5 separate regions of the Homo sapiens genome follow, and regions 2, 3, 4 and 5 are each linked to region 1. The links are contacts of gene promoters, found by promoter capture Hi-C in blood cells and fetal thymus (Javierre and others, 2016). All regions are on one chromosome and are shown on one strand. The core of a region is centred on a gene start or on the middle of the fragment in contact, and the rest is flanking DNA. Distances in the headings are between cores, read along the strand shown.

The links. The method cuts DNA at HindIII sites, captures the fragments that hold promoters and counts their contacts. A CHiCAGO score of 5 or more calls a contact.
Region 2: a contact is called between a fragment that was not itself captured here and the fragment with the promoter of CHMP4A in region 1, in 1 of 17 cell types (non-activated CD4 T cells). The highest score is 6.0, in non-activated CD4 T cells.
Region 3: a contact is called between a fragment that was not itself captured here and the fragment with the promoter of CHMP4A in region 1, in 1 of 17 cell types (naive CD8 T cells). The highest score is 6.1, in naive CD8 T cells.
Region 4: a contact is called between a fragment that was not itself captured here and the fragment with the promoter of CHMP4A in region 1, in 1 of 17 cell types (non-activated CD4 T cells). The highest score is 7.9, in non-activated CD4 T cells.
Region 5: a fragment that was not itself captured here is called in contact with the fragment with the promoter of CHMP4A in region 1 in 1 of 17 cell types (activated CD4 T cells); the score reaches 6.4 in activated CD4 T cells.

The regions. Positions count from the first base shown.
Region 1 is chr14:24,212,235-24,214,934 of GRCh38, reverse strand. CHMP4A (charged multivesicular body protein 4A) reads left to right here and starts at 1,447. Exons shown (of 6, transcript NM_014169.5): 1 at 1,447-1,526. The coding sequence starts at 1,496. It overlaps NEDD8-MDP1 (NEDD8-MDP1 readthrough), which reads left to right. Exons shown (of 7, transcript NM_001199823.3): 5 at 336-443; 6 at 540-625; 7 at 784-992. The coding sequence ends at 911. MDP1 (magnesium dependent phosphatase 1) reads left to right here. Exons shown (of 6, transcript NM_138476.4): 4 at 336-443; 5 at 540-625; 6 at 784-992. The coding sequence ends at 911. RefSeq lists enhancers at 1-143, 1,298-1,592, 1,229-1,728, 1,156-1,964, 1,919-2,038. The HindIII fragment of the contact is 5,751 bases long and covers 755-2,700 here.
Region 2 is chr14:21,432,484-21,435,183 of GRCh38, reverse strand. The region is part of intron 1 of CHD8 (chromodomain helicase DNA binding protein 8); the gene reads left to right. Among named protein-coding and RNA genes, the nearest start is that of CHD8, 22 kb to the left of the region's middle. The HindIII fragment of the contact is 1,326 bases long and covers 617-1,942 here.
Region 3 is chr14:21,483,600-21,486,299 of GRCh38, reverse strand. All of the region lies in intron 2 of TOX4 (TOX high mobility group box family member 4), which reads right to left. Among named protein-coding and RNA genes, the nearest start is that of TOX4, 7.8 kb to the right of the region's middle. The HindIII fragment of the contact is 3,821 bases long and covers 1-2,700 here.
Region 4 is chr14:21,386,934-21,389,633 of GRCh38, reverse strand. The region is part of intron 37 of CHD8 (chromodomain helicase DNA binding protein 8); the gene reads left to right. All of the region lies in intron 1 of LOC107984643 (a long non-coding RNA gene), which reads right to left. Among named protein-coding and RNA genes, the nearest start is that of SNORD9, 4.0 kb to the left of the region's middle. The HindIII fragment of the contact is 7,320 bases long and covers 1-2,700 here.
Region 5 is chr14:21,464,493-21,467,262 of GRCh38, reverse strand. The region is part of intron 5 of RAB2B (RAB2B, member RAS oncogene family); the gene reads left to right. LOC124903283 (a long non-coding RNA gene) reads right to left here. Exons shown (of 2, transcript XR_007064064.1): 2 at 1,393-1,746. Among named protein-coding and RNA genes, the nearest start is that of CHD8, 9.8 kb to the right of the region's middle. The HindIII fragment of the contact is 159 bases long and covers 1,405-1,563 here.

The sequences.
Region 1 (2,700 bases), core at 198-2,697:
GGCGTGCACCTGTAGTCCCAGCTACTTGGGAGGCTGAGGTGGGAGGATCACTTGAGCCCAGGAGGTCGTGACCACAGTGAGCCGTGATTGGGTCGCTGCACTCCAGTCTGGGCAACAGAGCTAGACCCTGTCTCAAAACAAAAGCTAAAACATTGGCCCAGCACCAATTGTGTCAAATAGGAAGGCAATGGAGTTAAACAGAGGCTGAGGATGCCTGTCCATCCCGGAAAAACAGCAAGTTGATTTCCCTGGTTATACTTACTAACTTTGCTTAATAAGTTAACGTAGCCCTGGCCCTTCACTTTGCTAATCCCATCTTTTACACCGTTTTGCAGGACAAGTGAGATAGAAGGGGCCAACCAGCTACTGGAGCTCTTTGACCTCTTCAGGTACTTTGTTCATCGGGAAATCTATCCAGGCAGCAAGATCACACACTTTGAGAGGTATGCGGAGATAAGGGAGGAGCAGGGTGAGAAAGTATCAGAGAGGCCTGGGAAACCAAGATACTAGCTTGGTTACTCCTGCCCTGTCTTGAATAGGTTGCAGCAGAAGACTGGAATTCCTTTCTCCCAGATGATCTTCTTTGATGATGAGAGGCGGAATATTGTAGACGTCAGCAAACTGGGTACTGAGTGATGAGGAACAGCCATTTGGGGTCCCTAGGAGGGATTAGGTAGATACATACAGGTTGGATAGTTTGCCCTATAGGTGGCACTCACAAAGGTCAGAGTAATAATGGAGAACCCTGAAAGCTTAATGAAATGTGACTTCTTATCTTTCTAGGTGTTACCTGCATTCACATCCAGAATGGAATGAATCTTCAAACTCTAAGTCAAGGGTTAGAGACATTTGCGAAGGCCCAAACTGGGCCTTTGAGGTCCAGCCTTGAGGAGAGCCCATTTGAGGCCTAAACTGAAAGGAAATCAAGAAGGCATTTTCAGGTGCATTTGTAATTTATTAAAGTTCATCTGTGTGTGACAGAAGAGATTTTACCCACAGTGTGGGGAGTTTCTATTTTTCTAGCCTGTGAAATGGGGTTGGTTGTCCTGAGGTGCAGAGACCAGAATGTGAGACATTAGACTGCATCAGGTTTGCCATCTAAACTTAGGGCAACCCCAAGTGCTTGAACCTATACCACCCCACTTTCCTGAGCTCTGTAAAGAGCATGAAGTTTTCCCACTGACCCCATACACTGAGGTGCCATCACACTGCACATTTCCTTCCGGAGAACAAGCACGTACTCAGGTGGAGATAGAACTGTCTTTTTACTTAATAGAAAATGATGTGGCAGCTTTAAGAGGAGCGCGTCGGTCTGGGGCTGGTGGCTTGGGTCACGTGACACCGGTGGTCTCGTTTGCGCCTCTTGATGTCGCGGCGGCGCCCTGAGGACGGATTGGGCAAGGCTGGTCCCTGTGTGATGAGACATCACCCTCCCAGGAGCAAGGCGGAAGTCTGGAGGACGCTGAGGGGCGGAGGCGGGAGAGGCGAGCTCGCGATGAGTGGTCTCGGCAGGCTCTTCGGGAAGGGTGAGCCAGGGTGGGACTGGCCAGCCAGGAGGCGCTGGCTGGTGCAGGGGAAGAGGAGACCCCGGCGAGATTCGGCCGGACCGCTGCGCCGGGCAGGGGAAGAGAATCAGGAGACAGGCTGACTGGAAAACCCCGGCGGCCGATGGCGGAGCAAGGCTCATCGCCGGTGCCAAAAGGCACACCATGTCGGGGCGCCTTGTTCCCGTCCGCCGTCCTCCCCCACTCTCAGAGGGAAGAACTCAAGATCTGGGAGGGGACTTGAGTTGAGGGCGTGGCGATCGTGCTGACTCCCACTGTTCAGGCTTGAAGACGAGTTTCCTGCTGTCTTCAGCCATTTTCAAAACCTTGTTCTATAATACTTTGTGCTGGGCAAGAGGGATCTAAGGTGAAGAAGAAAGACTGCCTTCTTAGCCCGGCGCGGGGGCTCACGCCTGTACTCGCAACACTTTGGGAGGCCGACGTGGGTGGATCATGAGGTCAGGAGTTTGAGATCAGCCTGGCCAATATGGTGAAACCCCGTCTCTACTAAAAATATAAAAATTGGCCGGGCGCGGTGGCTCACGCCTGTAATCCCAGCACTTTGGGAGGCCGAGGTGGGTGGATCACCTGAGGTCAAGAGTTCGAGACCAGCCTGGACAACATGGTGAAACCTTGTCTCTACTAAAAATACAAAAAAAAAAAAAAAATTAGCTGGTTGTGGTGGCACGCGCCTGTAGTCCCAGCTACTGGGGGAGGCTGAGACAGGTGAATCGCTTGAACCCAGGAGGCGGAGGTTGTAGTGAGCCAAGATTGCACCAATGCACTCCAGCCTTGGTGACAGAGGGAGACTCCATTCTCAAAAAAAAAAAAAAAAATTAGGTGGGCATGATGGTGTGTGCCTGTAGTCCCAGCTACTCAGGGAGGCTGAGGCAGGAGAATCACTTGAACCCGGGAGACGGAGGTTGCAATGAGCTGAGATCATGCCACTGCACTCTGGCCTGGGCAACAGAGCGAGACTCTGTCTCAAAAAAAGAAGTCCTGGCGCGGTGGCTCATGCCTGTAATCAAAACACTTTGGGAGGCCGAGGCGGGCAGATCACCTGAGGTTGGGAGTTCGACACCAGCCTGACCAACATGGAGAAAGCCTGTCTGTACTAAAAACACAAAAAATTAGCCAGGCATGGTGGCACATGCCT
Region 2 (2,700 bases), core at 30-2,529, 2.8 Mb after region 1:
TTCTGGTCATTAGTTTGTAATTATGGAAAGTGACTAAGTACAACCACTAAGTTTTGTCTTTCCTTTTGAGCACATACATGTGTTTCTCTTTTGGGGACTGGTGGGCCAACACTGGCTTTTCATTCTTAATATGATAAAAGTTGGTGTGACTTCTTTATCTAGGCAGTTACTTTGCATTGAAACCAACTTAACATCTGTTCATTTTTGCTATTAGGGTTTGAATCAAGGAAAGAGAATTCATGAGATGGTTGAGAGGATTCATGAGATAGATGAGCTTGGTAGAATAAATAGGCCGTATGTGGATATAGCCAGGGTGACCCACAAGTAGTAGTAGAAGGAGGGTTAAAAAAAGTTAGATGTATGTTGGGAGAAGGTTTAATCTTGTAAGAGTCAAGGACAGTTTAAAGATAGGAACTAGAAAAGAAGTAGGAAACTAGCATAAAAATATGAGATGAATTGGGTCAGTATAGGTGAGAATGATGGGACTGAGAAGTAATGATACTTGGTGGCAAGGTTTTTGAATTATTAGGCATAGACCGAACTAGAAGAAGCAGAAATTTGGTTCGAAAATTGGGAAGGGAGAGATAAATGACAATGCATTGATCTTTAAAAAGCTTATACTAAGTCATATGGGGGTAAGGAGATTCATCAGAAACCATCAGCCTTGTTTCTCCTATTTAAAAAAAAAAAAATCTGGGCCTAAGATTGGATCATTATGGGGGAAAGGAAGAGCATTAGAATTAACAAATAGCAAGGAATCATGGAAGCGACAAAATACTCCATGGAATAAGGAGCAGGCTATAAACTATTTGCAACGTAAACTTCTGGTTAGTAGAAACTTTCAGCGTGGTGGCTCATGCCTATAATCCCAGCACTTTGGGAGGCTGAGGCGACGGCTCACCTCTGAAGTCGAGAGTCCGAGACCAGTCTGACTAACGTGGCGAAAACCTGTCTCTACTAAAAATACAAAATTAGCCGAGTGTGGTGGCGCAGGCCTGTAATCCCAGCTATTCGGGAGGCTGAGGCAGGAGAATCGCTTGAACCCAGGAGGTAGAGGTTGCGGTGAGCCGAGATCGCGCCATTGCACTCCAGCCTGGGCGACAAGAGTGAAACTCTGTCTCAGAAAAAAAAAAAAAAAAAAAAAGAAACTTTCACTGTTGTTTTTATATTACTCCTAGCTGTAGATACTTTAACTTCTGACGGTGAGTAGAGAATGAAAAATAATTGGTGCCAAAGTAGGTATACTGGAAAAAAGCTGATGATAATGGGAAGGAAATTTATTAATATCAAGTTATTGAGTAGGTTTTCGTTAAATCAGGAAGCATTCATAACTTTCCTGATTGCCATTTTGAGTAATTTGGAGGCAAATATTAGATATGAGAGGCTGGAATGAGCTGGTGGAATAGGCTAGCCAGGAATGGGAGATGGTATGGATCTTGGGTTGAGATATGAAAAGTATGCAATTACTGAAGCAAGGACGATCTTGTTTAACATTGTTGGAGATACCATGTATACTTTGTAATTTTGACTCACGTGTTTGTTCTCTTTGTCTGTTTTGGAGTATCTGATATATTAACCCATATTATATTGTTTTATAAGGATAAGTGAGATGGGTTGGGAAGGAAAAAACATAGCATGGGGGTTATATGGAAAAGTCTCCTTCAGTCAGGACTGTGCCTCTGACAAATTTCTTATCTGGTGTCTTCCAAAAGTTAGGAGAAATGGTCTTACCAAGCAAGACTTTCCTGTATTGTCAAATACTGTCATCATATACAAAGAACAGATATTTCTTTTTCATATATTTGGGTTTTATGGTGATATACTTCCCTGTCTTTGATAGCTTTTCTTTTTTCCACTAGTTTCATGAACTTAAAACCCTAGACATGGATTTTGTGAACCTACTTTCAGCCATTCATAAGACATGTTTTCAAGATAGGAAGCTTTTTACCATCTCATGTTAGAATCAAAGGATACCATTTAGTTTCTGTGAGGATCGAATGGTTTACTCCAGATAATGCGAGCAAGTATAATTCATTAACTGTTTTTTGATTAGCTACTATATGTGCTATGTCCTGCTGGTTCTTAGGGGATCCACAGATAAATAAAACATAGTCCCCACCATCCAAGAACTTTCTCCCAGAGAAAGAGGAGCTGGGCCATGGTACAGAGTTGTGGAGGGTGTACATTGCATACATTCATAACAAATTTTTATATATTTAGTATGGCAGTTTTCCAGGCATCTTGAGAAGTGGGCAACTTTTTACAATTTGCGCAAAGGAACCATTTGGGCCTTCAGAGGATATATTACAGACTTAGGTCATTATAATAAAATATTAAATATAAGTGTTTTAAGGTATAAACAATGGTGTGGGTATTTAAAGGAGGTGGAGGGATCAAGTCATCACAAGTTGCTCAGTTGTTAAAGCGTCAGAGGTTCAGGGCTCACTTAATGGAGTAGAAGACCTTTGAGGGTTGGTAGGATTTTAGCTGCGAGAGATTATTGGCATTGGGATGGAGAGGACGTGTTCCAGGCAGAAAGCACAGCATCATAAGCAAAGTCACACAGGTAGGAATCACATTAAGGGAATTGTGTAGTCTAGTTGGACTGGAATGTAAAATATATGTAAGAGATGGTAAGAGGAAGTTGGGAATATAAATTGGAAACAATGTTGAATCCCTTGCAATTGACCTTTTTTATCT
Region 3 (2,700 bases), core at 165-2,664, 2.7 Mb after region 1:
TCTAACACATAGCATAGTAAATATAAACTGATTCAGATCAAATTCAATAGGTACCAACATTTTTTTTTTTCATAATTGAACAATGCATTCTTTAAATAGAGTTCCTAAAGGTTCCTTTTCTTTTTTTTTGAGATGGGGTCTTGCCCTGTCACCCAAGCTGATCTGGAACTCCTGGGCTCAAGCAAGCCTCCAGCCCCAGCCTCCCGAGTAGCTGGGACTACAGGTATGTGCCACCACACCCAGCTAATTTTTAAAATTTTTTGTGGAGACGAGCTCTCCCTGTGTTGCCCAGGCTAGTCTCGAACTCCTGGACTCAAGTAATCCTACTGCCTCGGCCTCCAAAGTGTTGGGCTTACAGACCTCAAGGTTCCTCTAGATCCTGAAATGTTCTTCTATTATGACCATTTCTGTCTTTTTTTTTTTTTCTTTTTTTTGAGACAGAGTCTCGCTCCGTGGCCCAGGCTGGAGTGCAGTGGCGCGATCTTGGCTCACTACAACCTCCACCTCCCGGGTTCAAGCAGTTCTCCTGCCTCAGCCTCCAGAGTAGCTAGGACTACAGGTGTGTGCCACCACGCCCAGCTAATTTTTGTGTTTTTTAATAGAGACGGGGTTTCACCATGTTGGCCTCGATCTCTTGACCTCGTGATCCACCCGCCTCAGCCTCCCAAAGTGCTGGGATTACAGGCATGGGCCACCGCACCTGGCAGTTTTTTTTTTTTTTGAGATAGAGTCTCCTTTGTCACCCATGATAAAATGCAGTGGCGTGATATTGCTCACTGCAACCTCCGCCTCCTGGGTTCAAGTGATTCTCCCACCTCAGGTTCCCAAGTAACTACAGGTGCACACCACCATGCCAGGCTAATTTTTATTATTATTTTATTTTTGAGACAGAGTTTCACTCTTGTTGCCCAGGCTGGAGTGCAATGGCGTGATCTCAGCTCACCGCAACCTCCGCCTCCCAGGTTCAAGTGATTCTCCTGCCTCAGCCTCCCTAGTAGCTGGGATTACAGACATGTGCCACCATGCCCGGCTAATTTTGTATTTTTAGTAGAGACGGGGTTTCTCCATGTTGGTCAGGCTGGTCTTGAACTCCCGACCTCAGGTGATCCGCCCTCCTTGGCCTCCCAAAGTGCTGAGATCACAGGCGTGAGCCACCACGCCTGGCCATGACGCCAGGCTAATTTTTGCATTTTTTGTAGAGATTGGGTCTGGCCATATTGCCCAGACTGGTCTTGAACCCCTGGGCTCAAGCCATCACCCTGCCTTGACCTCCCAAACTGTTGGGATTACAGGCATGAGCCACAGCGCCCAGCCTCTAATTCTGGTTTAATGAAGACATTAGGCTGGGAGCAGTGGCTCACGCCTGTAATCCCAGCACTTCGGGAGGCCCAGGTGGGCGGATCACACGAGGCCAGGAGTTCGAGACCAGCCTGGCCAACACAGTGAAACCCGTCTCTACCAAAAGAACAAAAAATTAGTCAGGCATGGTGGCACACACCTATAATCCTAGCTACTCGAGAGGCTGAGGCACGAGGATCACTTGAACTCAGGAGTCAGAGGTCACAGTGAGTCAAGACTGCACCACTGCAATCCTGCCTGGGCGACAGACCAAGACCATGTCTAAAAAAAAAGAAAAAGAAAGAAAATAAAGGCCGGGTGCCGTGGCTCATGCCTATAATCTCAGCACTTTGGGAGGCCGAGGTGGGTGGACCACCTGAGGTCAAGAGTTCGAGACCAGCCTGGCCAACATGGCGAAAATCCATCTCTACTAAAAATACAAAAATTAGCCAGGTGTGGTGGCAGGTGCCTGTAATGCCATCTACATCAGGAGGCTGAGGCAGGAGAATCACTTGAATCCAGGAGGCAGAGGCTGCAGTGAGCCGAGATTGTGCCACTGCACTCCAGCCCGGGTGACAGAGCAAGACTCTGTCTCAAAAAAAAAAAAAAAAAAAAAAAAAAAAAAAAAAAAAGACATTGCTAGAAAGAAAATTTCCAGCTAGCAGAAACTAGGGAGAAAAAAGTGTGCCTGTGAAATGCCCAATCTCTGAATCACATTTGTAAAAGTTTCCTAAAAGACAAAAAGATATATGTACAGTTTCCCTTCTCCTTACTATTTTACTTGGTATGGTAAAAAATCTGGTCGTTGTCTGAGATATAAGTAGCACACGGAGCATAAGAACACACAGTTCTCAGCTGGTAGTGGTGGCTCACACCTGTAATCCCAGTACTTTGGGAAGCCAAGGTGGGTGGATCACTTGAAAAGTCGGGAGTTCGGGACCAGCCTGGCCAACATGGAAAACCCCATCTCTACTAAAAATACAAAAATTAGCTGGGTGTGGTGGTGTGCGTCTGTAATCCCAGCTACCCAGGTGGCTGAGGCACGAGAATCGCTTGAACCCAGGAGTTGAAGGCTGCAGTGAGCCAAGATCACATCACTGCACTCCAGCCTGGATGACAGAGCAAGACTCTGTCTCACACGCGCACACACACACACACAAATAACAAAAAATACCACGCAGTTCTTGATGGGAAAAACTGAAACTTTCCCCAAGAACTGAACTTTTCTCAGTAGTACACAAATCATGTATTTATGTATGTTGTTTTGTTGTTGTTTTTTTTAATTCTGAGACAGGGTCTTACCCTGTCGCCCAGGCTGAGTGCATGGCTCCATCACCACTCACTGCAGCCTTGAACTCTTGG
Region 4 (2,700 bases), core at 36-2,535, 2.8 Mb after region 1:
GTTTTTTAATCTTTTATTTTTTTGAGACAGAGTCTTGCCCTGTCACCCAGGCTGGAGGGCAGTGCCACAATCTCAGCTCACGGCAAGCTCTGCATCCCCGGTTCAAGTGATTCTCTTGCCTCAGCCTCCCAAGTAGCTGGGACCACTGGCGCATGCTACCATACCCAGCTAATTTTTGTATTTTTAATAGAAAGAAGGTTTTGCCATGTTGGCCAGACTGTTCTCAAACTCCCGACCTCAGGTGATCCACCTGCCTAAGCCTCCCGAAGTACTGGGATTACAGGCATGAGCCACTGTGCCTGGCCAATAGTTGTAATTTTTTTTTTTTTTTCCTGAGACGGAGTCTTGCTCTGTTGCCCAGGCTGGAGTGCAATGGACTGATCTCAGCTCACTGCAACCTTTACCTCCCAAGTTCAAGTGATTCTCCTGCCTCAGCCTCCCGAGTAGCTGGGATTACAGGTGTGTGCAACCATGCCCAGCTAATTTCTGTATTTTTAGTAGAGACGGGGTTTCACCATGTTGGTCAGGCTGGTCTCGAACTACTGACCTTGTGATCCACCCGCCTCAGCCTCCCAAAGTGTTGGGATTACAGGCGTGAGCCACAGCGCCTGGTCAATAGTTGTATTTTTAAAGCATACATAAATCATTGTTTTAAATGACATAGAGTCATTTAAAATGGATTAGCACTTGTATATACTTGCCTTATCTAATTATTCCCCCATTTGATCTTCTATAGAAATCTTTATACACATACAGTCATCCCTTGGTATCTGTGAGGGATTGGTTCCAGGACCCCTGCAGATACCAAAATCCATGGATGCTCGAGTCCTTTATATATAAAATGGTGTAGAGCCAGGTGCGGTGGCTCTTACCTGTAATCCCAGCACTTTGGGAGGCTGAGGCAAGAGGATCACTTGTGCCCAGGAGTTCAAGACCAGCCTGGGGACCCCAGTGGGACCTTATCTCTACAAAAAATTAGCTGGGCGTGGTAGTGCAGTCCTCTAGTATCAGCTATGTGGAAGCTGAGGCAGGAGGATCACTTGAGCCCAGAGGCTGAGACTACAGTGACCCATGATCATGCCACTGCACTCCAGCCTGGGCAATAGAGTGTGAGACCCTGCCTCAAAAAATAAATAAATAAATAAATAAAATCATGTAGTATTTCCATGTAACCGACACACTTCCTCTGATACACTTTAATCTCTTGATTACTTATAATACCTAACACAATATAAATACTATGTAAATAGTTGTTACACGGTATTGTTTTAAAATCTGTAGTATTTTCTCTTGTTATTTTTTAGTTTCTTGTTGTTTTCAAATATTTTCAATCCACAGATGGTTGAATCCATGGATATGGAAGGCTGACTATGTGCATACACATATATTTATGTGTCTATATAACCACATGGAATATCTTTTAACAAAATTAATTTTAAAGTAAACTATCAATATTTTGCATTTAACAAGTTTGAAACATAAAATATATGTAGATTTATGAGGCTTATTTTTATATTAATGGAAGTGTTACCATGGGAGAATGTTTCAGTTTTCCCTGTTAGCCTCGATGAGAACAAGAGTGCAATAAACAGAATGGTTGATATGGGAAAGGCTGGTGGCTAGAAGGCTAATGCCATCTCTGTCTTTAATTTAACATTATAGAGCAGCCTGTAAGAAGGGCTTTTCCTTCACTGTTACCTATTTTTACCTCAAGTACTTCTGCTACTCCCTTATAGTCAACTGAAACTCTTAAGAAATATCATAGAAAATCACAGAAAATCCTAATATGACTAGTACAGAATTCTTTTTTTTTTTTTTTTTTTTGCTTGAGACAGAGTCTCGTTCTGTAACCCAGGCTGGAGTGCAGTGGCATGATCTCAGCTCACTGCAACCTCCGCCTCCTGGGTTCAAGTGATTCTCCTGCCTCAGCCTCCTGAGTAACTGGGATTGCAGCCATGCACGACCACACCCAGCTTTTTTTTTTTTTTTTTTTTTGATACAGAGTTTCACTCTTGTTGTCCAGGCTGGATGGAGTACAATGCCGTGATCTCTGCTCACCGCGATCTCCGCCTCCTGGGTTCAAGCGATTTTTCTGCCTCAGCCTCCCCAGTAGCTGGGATTACAGGCATGCGGCACCACGCCCAGCTAATTTGTTGTACTTTTAGTAGAGATGGGGTTTCTCCATGTTGGTCAGGCTGGTCTCGAACTCCCAACCTCAGGTGATCCGCCTGCCCTCAGCCTCCCAAAGTGCTGGGATTACAGGCGTGAGCCACCACGCCTGGCTGACTCCCGGCTAATTTTGGTATTTTTAGTAGGGACAGAGTTTCGCTATGTTGGCCAGGGTGGTCTTGAACTCCTAACCTCAAGTGATCCACCTGCCTCAGCCTCCCAAAGTGCTGGGATTACAGGCATGAGCCACCACGCCTGGCCCAGAATTCTTAATATAGAATTGACAGTGAATCTAGCACTACGTTATTCTTGGGACCTGCAGGAATAACTTCTATCTTCAATGAACTTAATCAGAATTTTTAGTCAGAACATCTAGAAGAAGCCATTTAAAATTCAGATATGTAAGTTTTTTATCAATGTGGAACAAAAATTATTTTATTAAATTTAGTGAGGAGTTTCTGACAGTTTTTTGGTGTTCTAGACATGTAGAAATCTTTATCTGATCTGTCTTGAATTTACCCTGCTTTGATG
Region 5 (2,770 bases), core at 235-2,734, 2.7 Mb after region 1:
CTGCACTCCTGCCTCAGCAACAGGAGTGAGACCCTATATAAAAAAAAGAAAAAATATGCCAGGCGTGGTGGCTCAAGCCCGTAATCCTAGCACTTTGGGAGGCCGAGGTGGGTAGATTAGAAAGTCAGGAGTTCAAGACCAGCCTGGCCAATATGGTGAAACCCCGTCTGTACTGAAAAAATACAAAAAGTAGCCAGGCGTGGTGGCACGCACCTCTAGTCCCAGCTATTTGGGAGCTTGAGGCAGGAGAATTGCTTGAACTCGGGAGGCGGAGGTTGCAGTGAGCTGAGATAGTGCCACTGCACTCCAGCCAGGGCGACAGAGTGAGACTTTGTCTCAAAAAAAAAAAAATTATTTCATTCTTAAATAGCAACAGTTACTTACTAAAGACCTCTATGTGTCTGTTGGGCACTGCATAGCTTCTCAAACCTTGGAATCACGATTGCACACTGCTACTCTCATTTCCCATTTCATATTGATTTTTGTGTAGTGCTTGCTTTTTTATAACAGCAACTGCCAGAAACAGCTTCTCAGAGATATGAAGATATTGAACGAATTTTATCATGGTCTGATATTGACATTGCAACTGTCTTAAGCTTGTAATTCATGTAGTAAGTATCCTTGTGTTGAGTGTTACTGTGTTTTTCTCAAAAGTTTGAGGTATCCCATGGCACCCTTGTGAGTTTGTAGTAGTGCCCAGAGTGTACTATTTGAGAACTGTGGCCACAGGCTAATTGGTTTTTTGTTTGTTTGTTTGTTTTCATTTGTTTGTTATGAGATGGAGTTTCACTCTTGTCACCCAGGCTAGAGCACAATGGCATGATCTCGTCTTACTGCAACCTCCACCTCCTGGGTTCAAGCGATTCTCCTGCCTCAGTCTCCCGAGTAGCTGGGATTACAGGCATGTGCCACCAAGCCCAGTTAATTTTTTTGTATTTTTAGTATAGACGGGGTTTCTCCATGTTGATCAGGCTGGTCTTGAACTCCTGACCTCAGGCGATCCGCCTGCCTCGGCCTCCCAAAGTGCTGGGATTACAGGCGTGAGCCACCACACCCATCCTGCTAATTATTTTTAGTGTATCAGTCAATGTATTGAAAACGACTGTGCCAGATTCTGAGTTTGCAAGGTGGAAAAAAGTCGTCCCCCTGCTCTTGTGCAGCTTACAGTCTAGTGGGGGCATAGATGTTAAATATAAAATTATTTGTATCAAATTGTAAATTGTGATAAATGCAATGGAGGAAAAAGGGTGCTACGAAAGAATAACAGGGTACCTACTTTTGATTAGGAGTGATATTAAGCTGGGATCTGAAGGATGGGCAAGAGCCTGCTGGGCAAAGATTTTTTTAAAAGGGTATTACTTGGGGGGAACAAACTATACAAACACCTTGAACTTGGAAGAAGCTTGACACGTTTATTGAAAGAAACCTAGTGTGATTGGACTAAATCAAGAGGGAATAGTGCAAGATGAGGTTGGAAAAGTAGGTAGGGACCAGATTTTATAGCACCTTAGAGGCCTGAGTAAGGGTTTTGGATTTTATTCTAAATACATGGAAATTGAAGCTTGGGAGATGGGGGATTAAAAATAATAATAAATAAATACACCTGAAGCATTTTAAAGTTTTAAGTAGAGAAGTGGCTTGATCAGATTTTAAAAGATCACTCTGGAGGAGAACAAGGACTGAAGTAGTATCCCAGTTGCAATAGTCCACATGAGAAAGAATGGTAGCTTGGTCTAGGAAGTGACCCTGGAAAGAGAAAGAAAGGATAATTTTAAGGTACATATTGGAAGTACTTCACTTTGGAATGGATTAGATATTTGGAGTAGGGAGCAAAGGGTATCAATAATAACACTTTGGTTTTTGGCTTATGCCATTTACTGAGATACAGAAGCCTGCAGCAAACACAGGCTAGGGGAAAAGAAGTTCCATTTTGATGTGTTAAGTTTGAAGTCCGTTTTATGTATCAGTGTGGAAATGAAGAATTCACAAATGTACAAATCTGGTGCTTAGTCAAGCATCTGGGCTAGAGGTACAAATTTGGGAGGGTTGACATTTAGATCTTCCCTGGTCTTCACACAGCTGATGGTATAATAAATTAAAATATTGTAGATTTGTTGTTCTTTAATGGTCTTACACTTTTTTTCCAAGGAGTTGGAAAACTGGAAACCTCCCAAATGAAAATTTTCAAATTGAAAAATACGAATCACAAACAGCCCAACCTTGCCTTATTCTTCAGTTTGTTTTTTTGGTTTTGTTTTTTTTTTGCGACAAGGTCTCGTGCTGTTGCCCAGGCTGGAGTACAGTAACGTGCTCAGCTCACGGCAACCTGTTTCCAGGGCTCAAGAGATCCTCTCACCTCAGCCTCTCACGTAGCTGGGACTACAGGCATGTGTCACCACGCTCTGCTGATTTTTAAATTTTTGTAGAGACAGGGTCTCACTGTATTGTGCAGGCTGTTCTTAAACTCCTGGGCTCAAGTAATCCTCCTGCCTCAGCCTCCCACAGTGCTGGGATTATAGGCATGAGCCACCACGCCCAGCTCTGCAGCCTTTTATCCTGTTTTTCATAAGGTCTTTTGTTGCCATTTTTATTCCCTTTTTCAGTCCTTAGCTCTTATCTTTTTTTTCACCTAATTTTATCCATATCACTGTCTCTGAATTCCCTGGTGGCAAGCTGCTTTTATATGCACTAGTAACGAAACCAGTGAGACTTAAGACAACTGTGTTTTCCTTATTCCTGGCTCATTCTCTTCTTGTGGCTTGATTCCAGT